4 separate regions of the Homo sapiens genome follow, and regions 1, 3 and 4 are each linked to region 2. The links are contacts of gene promoters, found by promoter capture Hi-C in blood cells and fetal thymus (Javierre and others, 2016). All regions are on one chromosome and are shown on one strand. Each heading gives the region's core, a stretch centred on a gene start or on the middle of the fragment in contact. The rest is flanking DNA. Distances are from core to core; before and after follow the strand shown. Region 1 overlaps NHS (NHS actin remodeling regulator). Region 2 holds the start of NHS (NHS actin remodeling regulator). Region 3 overlaps NHS (NHS actin remodeling regulator). Region 4 overlaps NHS (NHS actin remodeling regulator).

Region 1 (3,241 bases), core at 99-2,598, 200 kb after region 2:
AATAGTTGAATCTCTGACTCACAGATAATCAGTCATGTATATATTCACCCTCCAATAATTTAATATTACAGAAAGTGAACCAGAATTCAGCTTTGCACCTTTGGAAGTTAATTTCTTCTTTGTATGATTACTAGAGATATTCTCTGATAAGGGTAACGAGATGTATAGATTTGGTCTCTTCCCACCTTGCTGACATTCCTTGAATTTTTCTCAGGAAGACTGATCCAAGGCAAATCACATTTTTTCTCATCACCCCACCTTTGTCCTGGCCAAAGGGTGAACTATGGGAAGATCTCATGGGTGGTGTTCTAAACAACTTTCCCTTGATTAAATAACCCTTCTCCCAAGGGCTACTTGTGTGGGTTAAATTACTTAAAAATAAAACAAACAATCCAGAGTAAGAGAATTAGTTTGAAAAACAGAAGGTTACCAACAGCCTTGCCCTGTACAGCTGGAAAAGATGTGAAACGCACAGGCTCTAAGCACCCAAGAGGATAAATAAACGTGTCGCAGGTGCCATTAAGAAAACACATCTGCACACTGTCAATGGTGAGGATAAACACACGATTGTTTTCCCTTTCATGAGAAGCAGTGATGGGGAAAGGCGACTTATGGACCCTATCCAGTTCTGTTCAATTTACAGCATCTCAAGGTTGAGGGATGGGCACTTATCCAGCCTTGATGCATTCCCAAAATCTCTCATCAGAAGCAAATCTTCAAAGAAAACAAATAGTATGTTCATTCTCCTCCCAGTGCACAGACAGGAGAACAAACAAGGAAAGAAAGAAAATGCCCTAAAGGTTATCTGGTGGACCTCAGTTGCCCGAGATTGTGATTTTAGACCCGACATCCTTCTCTGGTTTTCCTCCTTCTCCTAATCCCCCTGCCAGTAGGAAGATCAAATGGAACTGACATAAATATCCTTCCCAGCTGTTAAGTGTAGCCATTGTTTCTTCTTTTAACACTACACTACACTCCAAACTTCCAGGGTCCATCAACTTCCCTAGTGTCTTAATGAAGTAGATTATACATTTTTATGAACCATAATCAGAATTCATGAAAGATAACTAGGAGCCTAGGGAATTATGATGGATCCATTCAAATCCTCATGGACTTAATTTGAGAAAAGGTTCAAATGCACAAGAAAATAAAGGCGACTTTTGGAGATGCCAGGCACCTGGAACCTCTGTGCTTTGTATTTCTCGGGTTACTGATAGTTTGCTATAGAAGTCATGAGTTGAATCTTCTTCATTTTTATTAGATCAAATGCCTCTTATATTATGTGCCTAAATTGGAAAATGGAATATGATGAATGTCTTACACCAGGCTTAGAGTCAAACATCTATATGCCCTTAGCCACCTGAATTTTAACATTTGATCTAAAGTGGATTAAATATCCACTTTAAATTGAAATACCCACTTTAAATTGAAAACCTCAATTTTTCATACTAATAGAAGGTGGCCAAAAAAACCTGCCAACACCTCAGAAATCATTCACATTTGACTTTGGAAAGTGTTCCTGGTTTATTGGCTGACATGCTGAAAGTTGGCTCTAAAGATAATAATGAAGAAATATGGAAACTGACTCAGAGTTAGAAGCCTGTCTGTGTCTACCTCATTCTGTCTTGTCTCCCTTCCTCTACTTTCTGTACTTCATCAAACTCTTTCCATTTTCTCATCTTTAAAAAGGGATAGGAGTGTTTTGGCAGGGTGGTTAAATGAGAATGTTTCTAAGGACTCCTCCAGTACTATAGTTCTGCAGTTTAATAGAACATATATGCCCTGATATAACTTCCAGCTATTCATTCATTCATTCAACAAACTTGTTTGTGTGAGTGCCTGTTAGGTGTTACTGTGCTAGCCATGAAACTAGCACCATTCTTGTCCTAGAAATAATATAAAATATGTTTGTTAAATATGTAGTAAGCATTTCATAAATGCTCTTGAAGGGTGTACACAATAGAGGCTATAACAGCTTCTCTGAACAATCCTGTGGTTAATGATGTTCTTTAATTATGCCAACATCCAATACCTCATGTTAAAGACTTTTAGCATTTTCCAGATGTTGGAAATGATCAGAAAATTGTATATTCTCAGTAACTATGAAGAATAATCTGAGTTCTTAGTTGTGGGTGCTGAGGCCCAAGAGGTATATCCTTCATCAAGGTTACATGTGGGTAGAGGTAGATGCCTCCTGCATCCCAGCATTGGGTTAGTTAGCTAAGAAAGTAGGCTCGAGGCCCAACTGCCGGGGTTCCAATTCTGTCTCTGCCACCTATAGGTTAAGTGATCTTGAGGAAGTCATTTAACTTCTCTGTGTTTTAGTTTCCTTCTCTGTGAAGTGGGGCTGGAATAGTAACTGGCTGCATAGGGTGTATGGATTCAGTGAGTTCCTATATATCGAAATACTCAAGAGTGTAAACAGTATAGTTTCATGTGTAATAACAGCCATTAGCAACAAGAAGTAAGGCTGGACTGTTTTCTCACATATGGCAGAAATTCAATTGGTGTTATAAAATAATCAAAACTGGTAAATAGCCAGTTCTTAGATCTATCTGTCCAAGATATTTCATGAGCAGATTGTATTTCCACAAACAAAGAAAAACCTGTTTACAACTGTACCTGGCATATAGTAAGTGCTCAATAAGTGTTCGCTAGTATCTTGCGGCACTGCTCTCATCTCCTGCAGTGTTGGAGAGGGTGTTTGAAGCGCTTTATTGGAGTCAAAGGATAATGCTCCCACCCCCTGACTCTGTGCGCATGTGTGTGAGTGTGTGTGTATGTGTGTGAGTGTGTACCAGTGTACAAAAAGGTGTGTTGTAGTGGAAAATCAAGTAACTCACTCAGTAAATTATCTCAGCCAAAAGTTCAGTTGCAGGAAATCAAATTCGGATTTGTAAGCCTGGTGAAATTCAAATTCCTTTTAAACATTTATTGCCATTTCTAGGCAAGAAACATTTCCCCTGATCATATCATTCTGGCCGGGAAGTCTTGCGTTTTAAAGCAAGTAAAAAGTGAAAAAAATAATTCTCAGTACATGACACAATTTACAGTTAGCTCCTCAGGAATGTGTGTCATGTTTTAAACTTGAGTAGGTTGATGCTCTCCAAACATCCTAGTCCTTCGTATTTATAGAGTGCTTTATTTTAGTGTGTTAACAATGAATGAGAAAAAGCGGAACTTTCTGTAGGCATTTTTTCCTGATGCTATTTTGATTTGAATGCAGCCTTGCTTCTCCTGC
Region 2 (3,220 bases), core at 502-3,001:
GTGAGAGTCCCACACCACTTATTCATTGCCCCTGTCAATGCTCAGATGGGCCCGCTCCACTGGCACCCTTGCTATTAATAGGACAGTGCTAGGTAAGGGAGAGTGAGAGGCAGGGCAGCCTGTTGCCACAAGGCTTGCTAACCAGATGCCTTTAATATCCCTCATTGTTCTCCATGCTTCCATGTGTTTAGGGAGAAGTGTCTGGCTTGCCTACCCAGCAGAACTCATGTTCAGAATTTTGAACGTATTAAAAAGTCAAGCTCAATTTAAAAACAGCTAGCTCAACGCTTTTCAGATTTGTGAGATAAAAAACAAACCTTAAAAGACCTTGTTCCAAAATATTCTTTTCTTTCATTTTTTATTTGGAAACAAAACCAAATTTAAAGTTGCAAGAAATGTACAATGAACCCTGATATGCCCTTAACCTAGACTATTTTGAACATTTTGCCATATTTTGTTTTTTTCTCCCTTCATACATACACATCTTTATTATCATCATTCTTCTTCTTGTTGTTACTGAAACATTTATGTGTACTTTGCAGACATCATGGCCCTTTACCCCCAAAGCCTCAGCCTGGATCTTTTATGAACAAGGATATGTCCTTGCCGAAAATTTTGGTTTTTTTTTGTTTTTTTTTTTTTGTTTTGTAGAATAAGACAAGGGTCTGTTGAAGCCTTTAAAACCAAAGCGTGGGCCAGTCCAAAGTGCTGACTGTTGGAGCCTCCTCCCTCTCCCGCCTTTAGAGGGAGGAGAGGAGACACCACCGCAGGTCTGGAGGACTTTATTGTTGCCATAAAACATATTTTTTCCATGTTCTCTTTAGAAACACGAAAAGAGGCTGCATTCCCAAGATCTGGCTTGTGGCTTTAAAATAAAAAATATTTTTACAGTATACTTTTTGGAGGCATGAAAGCACGTGTTTTATTAACATTTCCCAAACTCTTTTTACTGACGGCATACAGCCTGCAGCCTGCTGCAATCGAAAATGCATGCCTTTTTAGAAATTATACCTTTCAGTTAACTGAAGGGGAAAACTTTCCCTTCTTCTGTAAATCATCATCTCTCTGATGGAGAACTTTAAAAATCCTGTGTATGATCAGCACAGTAGGGTGACGAGGAGGTAATGCCGTTTATCTCACCCAACGTGCAATGAGTTTCGTAAGCAGTTTTCTGGGGATTTTGCTCATTGGTGGTTTGGGTCTCATTCACGATATTCTATAGAGCCCGTGCCCAAAACAGGGGGCCACGTGATGCCTGGGAAGGGGTATAAACAGCACTCTGGCTGCTCTGGCCACATGGAGATGCGCCTACGCCCTTTGCCCTCCCCAGTTGTCTCCTTGCGTTCATAGAGCCCGGGGATCTCCAAGGAGCAGCCCAGTTTTCCCTGTAAGAACCCAAAGGTCTTGTACAGAGCTGGAATTCGGCGAAAAACTTGCTCCAACACGCCAAATCTGCCGCATCCTCAATACCCCACCCTCTTCCCTCTGCGCTTACTGCCCACACCCCTACTCCCAACTTGAGGACTCCCCGCCCCCACCACGCTGACAGTCTCAATTCCAACCCCTTGGATGTGAGGAAGTGTCTTTGCGCCTGAACGCGCCCAGCACGGCGAGGCCACCAGTGACTCCCAGCGGCCGCACAGGGCGCTGCGCCCCCCTCGCCCCGGCCTCCCCCGCCCTGCGTCCGCCCCGTCACCCCCGCGCGGCCTCCTGCGCCCGGGCTGGAGGCAGATTCCTCTCTCCGGGTTTTCAGAGCGCCTTTCCGAAACCTCCTCCCCGCCCAGCCAGGGAGAGAGATCCCGGGCGCAATCGCTCCCCGGAGCGGCCGAGGGGCGCGCGGGGAGAGGCCTGCGCCGGGGTACTTTCAAACTGAGGCGCGCGCACACACTCACACCCACCCACCCACTCACCCACACACACACAGACACACGCACGCCCATTTATATAGGCGGCGGCGACGGCAGTGGCCGGGGTGGCGACGGCGAGCACAGAAACGATGGAGTTGAGCCAGTCGACCCTGGTTGGAAGCAAGTGAGAAGAGACCAGGCGCACCCCTAAATTTCTGTGCGGAGCGCTTGTCATCCTCCCCAGGGAACGGTGCACCCAAAGGAGGACTGGCTGGACTGATTTGCTAGGGAGAGGGCGGGGAAGAGGAGGCAAGGTGAGCAGAGAAGCCCCCTGCGTATCCGGACTGCCAGATCGCGCTTTTGCCGGACTCCTGCCCCCTCCCTGCTCAGGTGGGCGCGCCCGGTCTCCAGCTCACAGGGGCGCTTGGAGGAGACCAGAAAGTCGCCGCCTGGCTGCGCGGGATGCCTTTCGCCAAGCGGATCGTGGAGCCGCAATGGCTGTGCAGGCAGCGGCGCCCTGCGCCCGGCCCAGCAGTGGACGCGAGCGGAGGCAGCGCTGAGCCGCCGCCGCCCTTGCAGCCGCCGGGCCGGAGGGACCTGGACGAGGTCGAGGCGCCAGGGCCAGAGGAGCCAGCCCGCGCCGTCCCTGCACCTTCAGGGCTGCCACCGCCGCCGCCGCCACTGCCCGCGCCGGCCGACCAGACTCAGCCGCCGCACGGAGAGGCGTCCGTGGCTGGCGAGGAGAGCACGGCGGGGATCCCGGAGGCGGCGCCCGCAGCCGGCGAGGCGTCCTCGGCGGCGGCGGCGGCGGCCGTGCTGCTCATGCTGGACCTATGCGCGGTCAGCAACGCCGCTCTGGCCCGTGTCCTCCGGCAGCTCTCGGACGTGGCCCGGCACGCTTGCAGCCTCTTCCAGGAGCTCGAGAGCGACATCCAGCTCACCCACCGCCGCGTCTGGGCGCTGCAGGGCAAGCTCGGCGGCGTGCAGCGCGTCCTCAGCACGCTTGACCCTAAGCAGGAGGCAGTGCGTGAGTACCCGCGCCGTCCGCCCGCCAGGCTATGGGTTTCTGCGCCGCACCCTCGCGCCCTCCCCAGCAGCGGCAATCCCAGCCCCGCGGCGCCGCTCCGGTTGCAGCTTGCACCTTACTACTCTCGCCTTCCCACCCTTCCCATCCCCTGGGACCCACCCCAATCCTCCTGGGGCTGAGTGGCTGGGCTGGACCCCGATTCAGTGATGCAGACGTGGACGGTGGAAAGTTAAAAGGGCGACCTCTGAAGTCGCAGGCAGCGTGGGCTGAGAAGGAGCAGAAAGGGAGCGTTTATGGGGAGCACAGGAGGCAGAGAGGGTCTGTCCTTCACCACCGGGGCTCGCCT
Region 3 (3,166 bases), core at 574-3,073, 220 kb after region 2:
TGAGACATTCCTAAGAGTAGGCCTTTCCTGTATGGTCAAGACTGAAAGAAATAAACGGATGTGGGCTTTTTTCTTGCCTTTAGACTTTATGGATTAGTCATAGGATCTTGTTGAAATTATTCAGTCCAGAAATAAGTGATTAACATTTAACTTCTTTAATGGGCAATTACTCAACAGCTATGCCAGTGGGTAAATATTTACTTATCATCTATTCCAAGGAGTGAATGTTAACTTGAGTCAAACAGTTACTTGTGTTGGTTCTTTAATAGCGGAAAAGTGAATTTATATGGCTCTAGGAGTTCCAATTTCCCACCAAATAAGAACTTACTGAAGGATGTTCAGAGCCCTGGGCTGGAGTTAAATTACAGACAATTTGCTTACCTACTCCCTCCCTCCAAAAAAAAAAAGATGAAGATTTTTTGTACTCACCACTATTTATTGAAATCTGGTAGCTTCAAATCTCACAAAGCCAAACAAATTCACTCAGTTTTTCAGTCTGTAGGTCTGTGACAGCCTCTGTTTACCACAAAACTGCCTGTATCTTGTCACTATGGATGCAAGTCAAGACAGAGGCAAAGTCTGGATGATGAATGGCTTGTTCTTAGTAATGTGCTTGTAATTGTTCTTCCTTAGAATGGGAAGGATGGCTTGGGAGGACCTGTCTATCATAGAGGGACTTGGCAGCTTCCAATCTCTTTGCTTGCTTGTCTACAATGCAGCCAATGGGACTAATTCAAATATCCCAGACATGCCCAGATGGATACACAGAGCATATGGCTTGAAGACTCAGTTATGGAAATAACAGGCACCATTTCTGAGACTTTCAATTCACTTCCAACAAATATATTTTAATCAACAGGCAGGAAACCAAATTAAAAGTTGAAGCATGAACCAAGGTCAAAGGTTAAGGGTTAGGATGTGGGATTTTGGTGTTCATGCTCCAGGTTTGGCCTACCATGCAGAGAGGTCAAAGATGACTGCACAGGGAACCATTGGGAGAGAGGAATGTGGTATTCCAGTTTGTAGAAAGTTTGAGAGTCTGGAATTTGGTATATTAGTCAGTGCCAGCCACTCCAAGTCTCAGGGGCTTCACACAAAGTTTATTTCTTGTTCATGTCACATTCCAGGCATGGGAGTGGGGAAGTGAGGGATCAGGACCTGTGTTCCACGCAGGCATTCAGACTCCCAGGCTCCTTCCATTTTATGACTTCCCTGTGCCCTAAGGCCTCCAAGTCCACCTCAGCTACTGCATCCAGACTGCAGATGAGGCAAAGAGAAAGTGTGGAGGATAGCGTGGAGGTTTTATGGGCCCACCTATATTCTGGCCAGAACTGTCACGTGGCCCCACTAACATGCAAGGGAGGCTGGGAAATAGAGTCATCTGTGTGCCCAAGGTGTAAAGGGAAATGTTTTGGTGTAAAACTAGCCAGTGTGTCATACACGGCTTCAGGAACTTAAGACTATTCTTCCGTTTTTTTTTTTTTTTTTTTTTGATACGGAGTCTTGCTCTGTCACCCAGGCTGGAATGCAATGGCGCGATCTCGGCTCAGTGCAAGCTCCGCCTCCCGGGTTCACGCCATTCTCCTGCCTCAGCCTCCCAAATAGCTGGGACTACAGGCGCCCGCTACCATGCCTGGCTAATTTTATTTTTTTGTATTTTTCGTAGAGACGGGGTTTCACTGTGTTAGCCAGGATGATCTCGATCTCCTGACCTCGTGATCCGCCCACCTCGGCCTCCCAAAGTGCTGGGATTACAAGCGTGAGCCACCGCGCCTGGCTATTCTCTTTTTTTTTTTTTTTTAAGAAAAAACAAAAAACTGGCAGGGGTAGGGACAAGGGATACACTCTTCCTCAGTGAGCATTTGGAAGAGAGCTGGAGAAAGAGCAAAAGAAGAGAGCAGGCTAGAAATGACTTAAAAATTAGTGGGATATTCCTGGAGAGTTGCCAAGCTAGAGGAGATTCACTTCCACTCATAATGGGAGATAAAAATTGTTCTCATTTGGGTTTATTTTTTTTCCAGGCACAGGCTTTAGAGGGTGAGTTAAACTTCCTAAAGCAAAGGATTAGATAAGAGGGAACTCAGCTTTGATTGAAGAGCCAGCTGTGTCAGAAAGTAACAGGGAGAGGAAGAGTGGGTCGAGCCACACCGCGGGTACCTGATTGTGGTGGACTCTGGAGGTTGCCTGTAAAAGGAGACACTCCTCAGGCTCCTCATTCACTAGGGATGTTCAGTGAAGAACAAACCCAAGCGAGAGAGGGTGCCCAGAATGATCGCAGGCTCATTTCTAGGAGGGTAGGACACTCCTGCTTGATTCTCTCTCTTCTCTTTCTTTTCTTTTCCTGTCTATGAATGCAGCCCTGTCTTAGTCAGCTCTTTTTGGAGGAGACCTGTGATGGAAGGGAAGGTTCTGACTGGGAGCTAGAGGAAAGGCCAGGGTTCAGGGCCTGCCCTACCCAGCAGGTAGACTCAGGGGGCTGTGTCCTGGCATGGGTCCTGACTGGATGGCACTCTCCCTCCCCAGCAATTCCAACAGGCCTTCTTGGGCGGACTCTTTTGTGGCAGTTCCTGGCAGTCCCAGATGTGGCTCGTTGTCAAGCCTCTGGACCAATGCCCGGAGCCTGTTGGGAGTCCAGACTCCAAGTCAAGAAGAACAGAATTAACTGGCCAGGCGCCAAGATAATATTTTTCCCTCATAAGCAAGAATGCTGCCTAGGAAATAAGTTTAACTCCTTTCTTATTTCCTTAACTCTTCTTTAGTCTCCTTTAAAGTAGTTAGTGATCATCAAAAGACATTTTTAAGTGTGCCCCCACAAAGAAAACTTTTATTTAAAAAACACTTATATGATGCCTACCCTGTGCCTTACACTAGCGTTGTACAAATATTAACCTATTAGATTGTCACAACAACCCACAACAAAGGTACTATCATTATCCTCACTTCACAGATAAGGGCATACAGGTGAAAAAGGCTTCATGGCTTCCCTAGGGTCATGCAGCTTACAGGTGGTAAACCTGGGATTTGAACCAAGGCAATCTAGTTTAGAGTCTATATTCACTGTATTGACCCTTTCTATATTCACTATATTGACCTTTCTTTCCCCAAAGAAAACGTGGATTGCTTTCATAAAATGGTATACATATAGAAAAATGCACAAATCCTAAGT
Region 4 (3,249 bases), core at 585-3,084, 240 kb after region 2:
TGTTGTGAATACAGGGAGAGAGAGAGGATGAGTGATAGCTATAAGCAGTGGCCCTCACTTTTCAGAGGCGTGGAGCTGTTGACAGAACAAATAATCACATCTCAAAGACTTTGAAGCTCCTCACATGGTCAGCAGACAAGAGGCCGCAAGGCTCAACCATAAATGCTGGAATTAGTTCTGAGAGCAGAAGGAAGGACTTGCCTTTGCTTGAAGCCAAAACCAATCTGAAACCACAGAACCTCAGCCTGAGGGCTAGGGCTAGGCAGAAAGCTTGCTTTTGAAACCTGAGCTCTCCTTGCAACGGTGGTGGGGGTGGGGGTGTTGGTGTATGTTCCACTTGTACAAGCAAACCCTCTCATAAGTTTGACCCTGAAAAAATTACATAATCCTTTCATCACAGCGGGTTACATTTTCCAAGGGCAGAGCTTTGACTTACAACTGATTATAGGTGTATTGTTAGGACTCCAGCACCCATGCTTGATATGTGTTTGTTTCATTTCCAGTGTTACATGTATTAAGTGTCAACAATCTACACTCATGCTACCTCACGTTTGAAAATTAACTCAGGAAGTCACAAAATGAACTTTTTCCCCTCCTTAGCAATTTCCCATCTTCATTGTGTGATAAAGGTTTTTGCTAACAGCCAAGTACCACACTAGACATTAGGTAGGTTCATGGGCCTGTGGTCTGTTATCAATGTCTTGTGTTAATCCAGGCTTTCTTCCAAAGAGTTTGCAGTGCTTTTTTTCAGACATCATATCATGTCACATCTCTCCTTCCTCCTGTGTTCCCTAATCTCACTTAATGACAACACCATGAGCTCCTTTCCCTCTTCCCTTACTTCCCTGATAGCTTAATATTCCTCCACTATGCCTTTTGCATCTTCCCTCTCTTTCTCACTTTTTCTTTCCCTGTCCCAGGGCAGGCTCTTGTCATTCATACATATATATATATATGTGTGTATATATATATGTATATATATATATACACACATATACATATGTGTGTATATATATACGTGTATATATACTATATATATACGTATATATATAGTATATATACACATATATACGTATATATATACGTATATATACACATATATATACGTATATATATACACATATATACACATATATATATATATATGGTCTCACTCTGTTGCCCAGGCTGGGGTGCAGTGGCACACTTATGGCTCACTGTAGCATCAGTCTTCTGGGCTCAAGTGATCCTCCCACCTCAGCCTTCTGAGTAGCTGGGACTACAGGTGCATGACAACACACTCGGCTAATTTTTTTTTTTTTGTGGAGATGAGGTTCCTCCATATTGTCCAGGCTGGTCTCCAACTCCTGGGATCAAGCCTCCTACCTCGGCCTCCCAAAGTGCTGTGATTACAGGCGTGAGCCACTGCACCCAGCCATGCTCTTGCTGTTTCTTGCTTGGAGTATTGCCATGGTCTCCATGAGCCCATCACTCCTCTCCTCCAAAACCACACTAGTCTCAACTGATTCACTTGTCGTTTGGTCCCTTTGGACTTTTCAAACCTCATCTGTCAGGACCTCTCTCCCTTTTCCCCCACACCATTCCCTGAACGCACTATCCATTTACATGCATTCCTTGGCTCAGCTGTTTACATCATCTGCACTGCCCACCCCCCCACCCCACCGACAACATCCTGCATGCCTATCACAGTTCATCTTAAGTGTTACTGCATGGAAAGCCCACCCTGATTGATATCCATAGGCAGAATTCATCACTGTTCACCCTTATGCTCTGGGAGCCCTTTATTGTGAGCTCAATTTCAGCATTTAGTTCAGTCTAACTTTAAAAAAATAGTTAATTACGTGCTTGAAAACAATTAGATTGCAAACCCCTTGAGCCAGGGACTATGTCTTATTTGTCTCTGTGGCCCACTATAGCAACCAGCTAGTGGCCTGGCCCTAATGACAACCTGGTAAATGAACAGAGTGAGCGATATCCCTGTATCAAAGGTAAAGAAAGATTAGCATTTGCTGCTGTAAGGATGGCTAAAGGGATTCATTTGTCCAAAGTCCTTCAAAGGGCAAGTCAAGTTGAGACACTGTCACTTCTGTCACAATCCCCAGTTGGCTGGGTGGCGCCACCTCTTCAGAGATCTTGGCAGTAGATTTTTGGTTGCCATTTGTTATTTTATACATTGGGTGGGTCTGTATGTATGCGCATCTGTGACAACAACTTGGCTGGGCAGGTAGATGACATCTGCTTGTGCAAATCTCTTTTCATTCTTGAATATAGTTGTACCTTAGAAATACAATGCAAAACACAGATGTCATTTAAAAATATCTAATAATGAAATTACAAAAGTAAAAAGAAGCAGGTGATGTTAGTTTTGATTATGTGTTTTATTTAGCCCAAATGTCCAAACTATTACCATTTCAAAATGCAATCAATATTTTAAAATTATTAATGCGATGTTTCATATTTTTTGTATTGTCTTCAAAATCCCATATCCATTGCACACGTGCAGTGCATCTTAATTCAAATGCTTAATTTTCATCAGAAATACTTGATATGTATTTAGATTTCATAAAATTTACAGTTGAAAAAGTAGATACACATATCCAAATTCTTCCAAATGTATTTAAAATTTTCCCAATAACTGGATTTAATATCAGCCTGTACATTTACATTTGAATTAATTAAAATTAAACAAAATTTTTAAATTCCATTCTTTGGACATACTAGCCTTGTTTCAAATGCCCAATAGCCACATGTGACTAGTAGCAATTGTTTCGGGGCATACAGTCTTAGGGCACAAAGATTTCTAAGTATCATTCAGCTTATTCCTCTGTCCTCGTAATTTAATTGTAAAAGAAAAAAAAGTGTGACAGGGATAGTTATTAGAGACCTTCGATTAGCCAGCTGCCTTTTCTCTCCAGCCTTGCCATCAGCTTTGTGAAACTGGGGCCTACTGCTGGCTTCCCGGGACTGTCGTGAAAGTAATAGGATTCTGTTGACAAAGCACTTGAAAATCCAGGGATGAAAGGGCCTGTGTAATTCCCGGGTTTGTTGGCCAGGCTAGGCTGTGAATTGGGGTCTGCGTCTATACTGCAGCTGCCCCTACGCAACCACACTGATCTGTGCTTCCTTCTGCAGCCAAGGTCTACACCAGCATCTCACAGCACATGAGTCAACTGCATGTTTTATCGTCCACAGCACCGGGATGCCATGTTTTTAGATGCTCATGGCTTTGATTAGATTATAACATATTTG

What was found. The method cuts DNA at HindIII sites, captures the fragments that hold promoters and counts their contacts. A CHiCAGO score of 5 or more calls a contact.
Region 1: a fragment that was not itself captured here is called in contact with the fragment with the promoter of NHS in region 2 in 1 of 17 cell types (neutrophils); the score reaches 5.8 in neutrophils.
Region 3: a fragment that was not itself captured here is called in contact with the fragment with the promoter of NHS in region 2 in 2 of 17 cell types (M0 macrophages and M1 macrophages); the score reaches 7.1 in M0 macrophages.
Region 4: a contact is called between a fragment that was not itself captured here and the fragment with the promoter of NHS in region 2, in 1 of 17 cell types (monocytes). The highest score is 5.4, in monocytes.

What each region holds. Positions count from the first base shown.
Region 1 is chrX:17,576,182-17,579,422 of GRCh38, forward strand. All of the region lies in intron 1 of NHS (NHS actin remodeling regulator), which reads left to right. All of the region lies in intron 1 of LOC101928389 (a long non-coding RNA gene), which reads left to right. Among named protein-coding and RNA genes, the nearest start is that of NHS-AS1, 19 kb to the left of the region's middle. The HindIII fragment of the contact is 6,957 bases long and covers 1-3,241 here.
Region 2 is chrX:17,373,449-17,376,668 of GRCh38, forward strand. It overlaps NHS (NHS actin remodeling regulator), which reads left to right and starts at 1,752. Exons shown (of 9, transcript NM_001291867.2): 1 at 1,752-2,874. The coding sequence starts at 2,310. The HindIII fragment of the contact is 7,271 bases long and covers 1-3,220 here.
Region 3 is chrX:17,595,646-17,598,811 of GRCh38, forward strand. All of the region lies in intron 1 of NHS (NHS actin remodeling regulator), which reads left to right. Among named protein-coding and RNA genes, the nearest start is that of NHS-AS1, 38 kb to the left of the region's middle. The HindIII fragment of the contact is 8,896 bases long and covers 1-3,166 here.
Region 4 is chrX:17,614,132-17,617,380 of GRCh38, forward strand. The region is part of intron 1 of NHS (NHS actin remodeling regulator); the gene reads left to right. Among named protein-coding and RNA genes, the nearest start is that of NHS-AS1, 57 kb to the left of the region's middle. The HindIII fragment of the contact is 3,133 bases long and covers 269-3,249 here.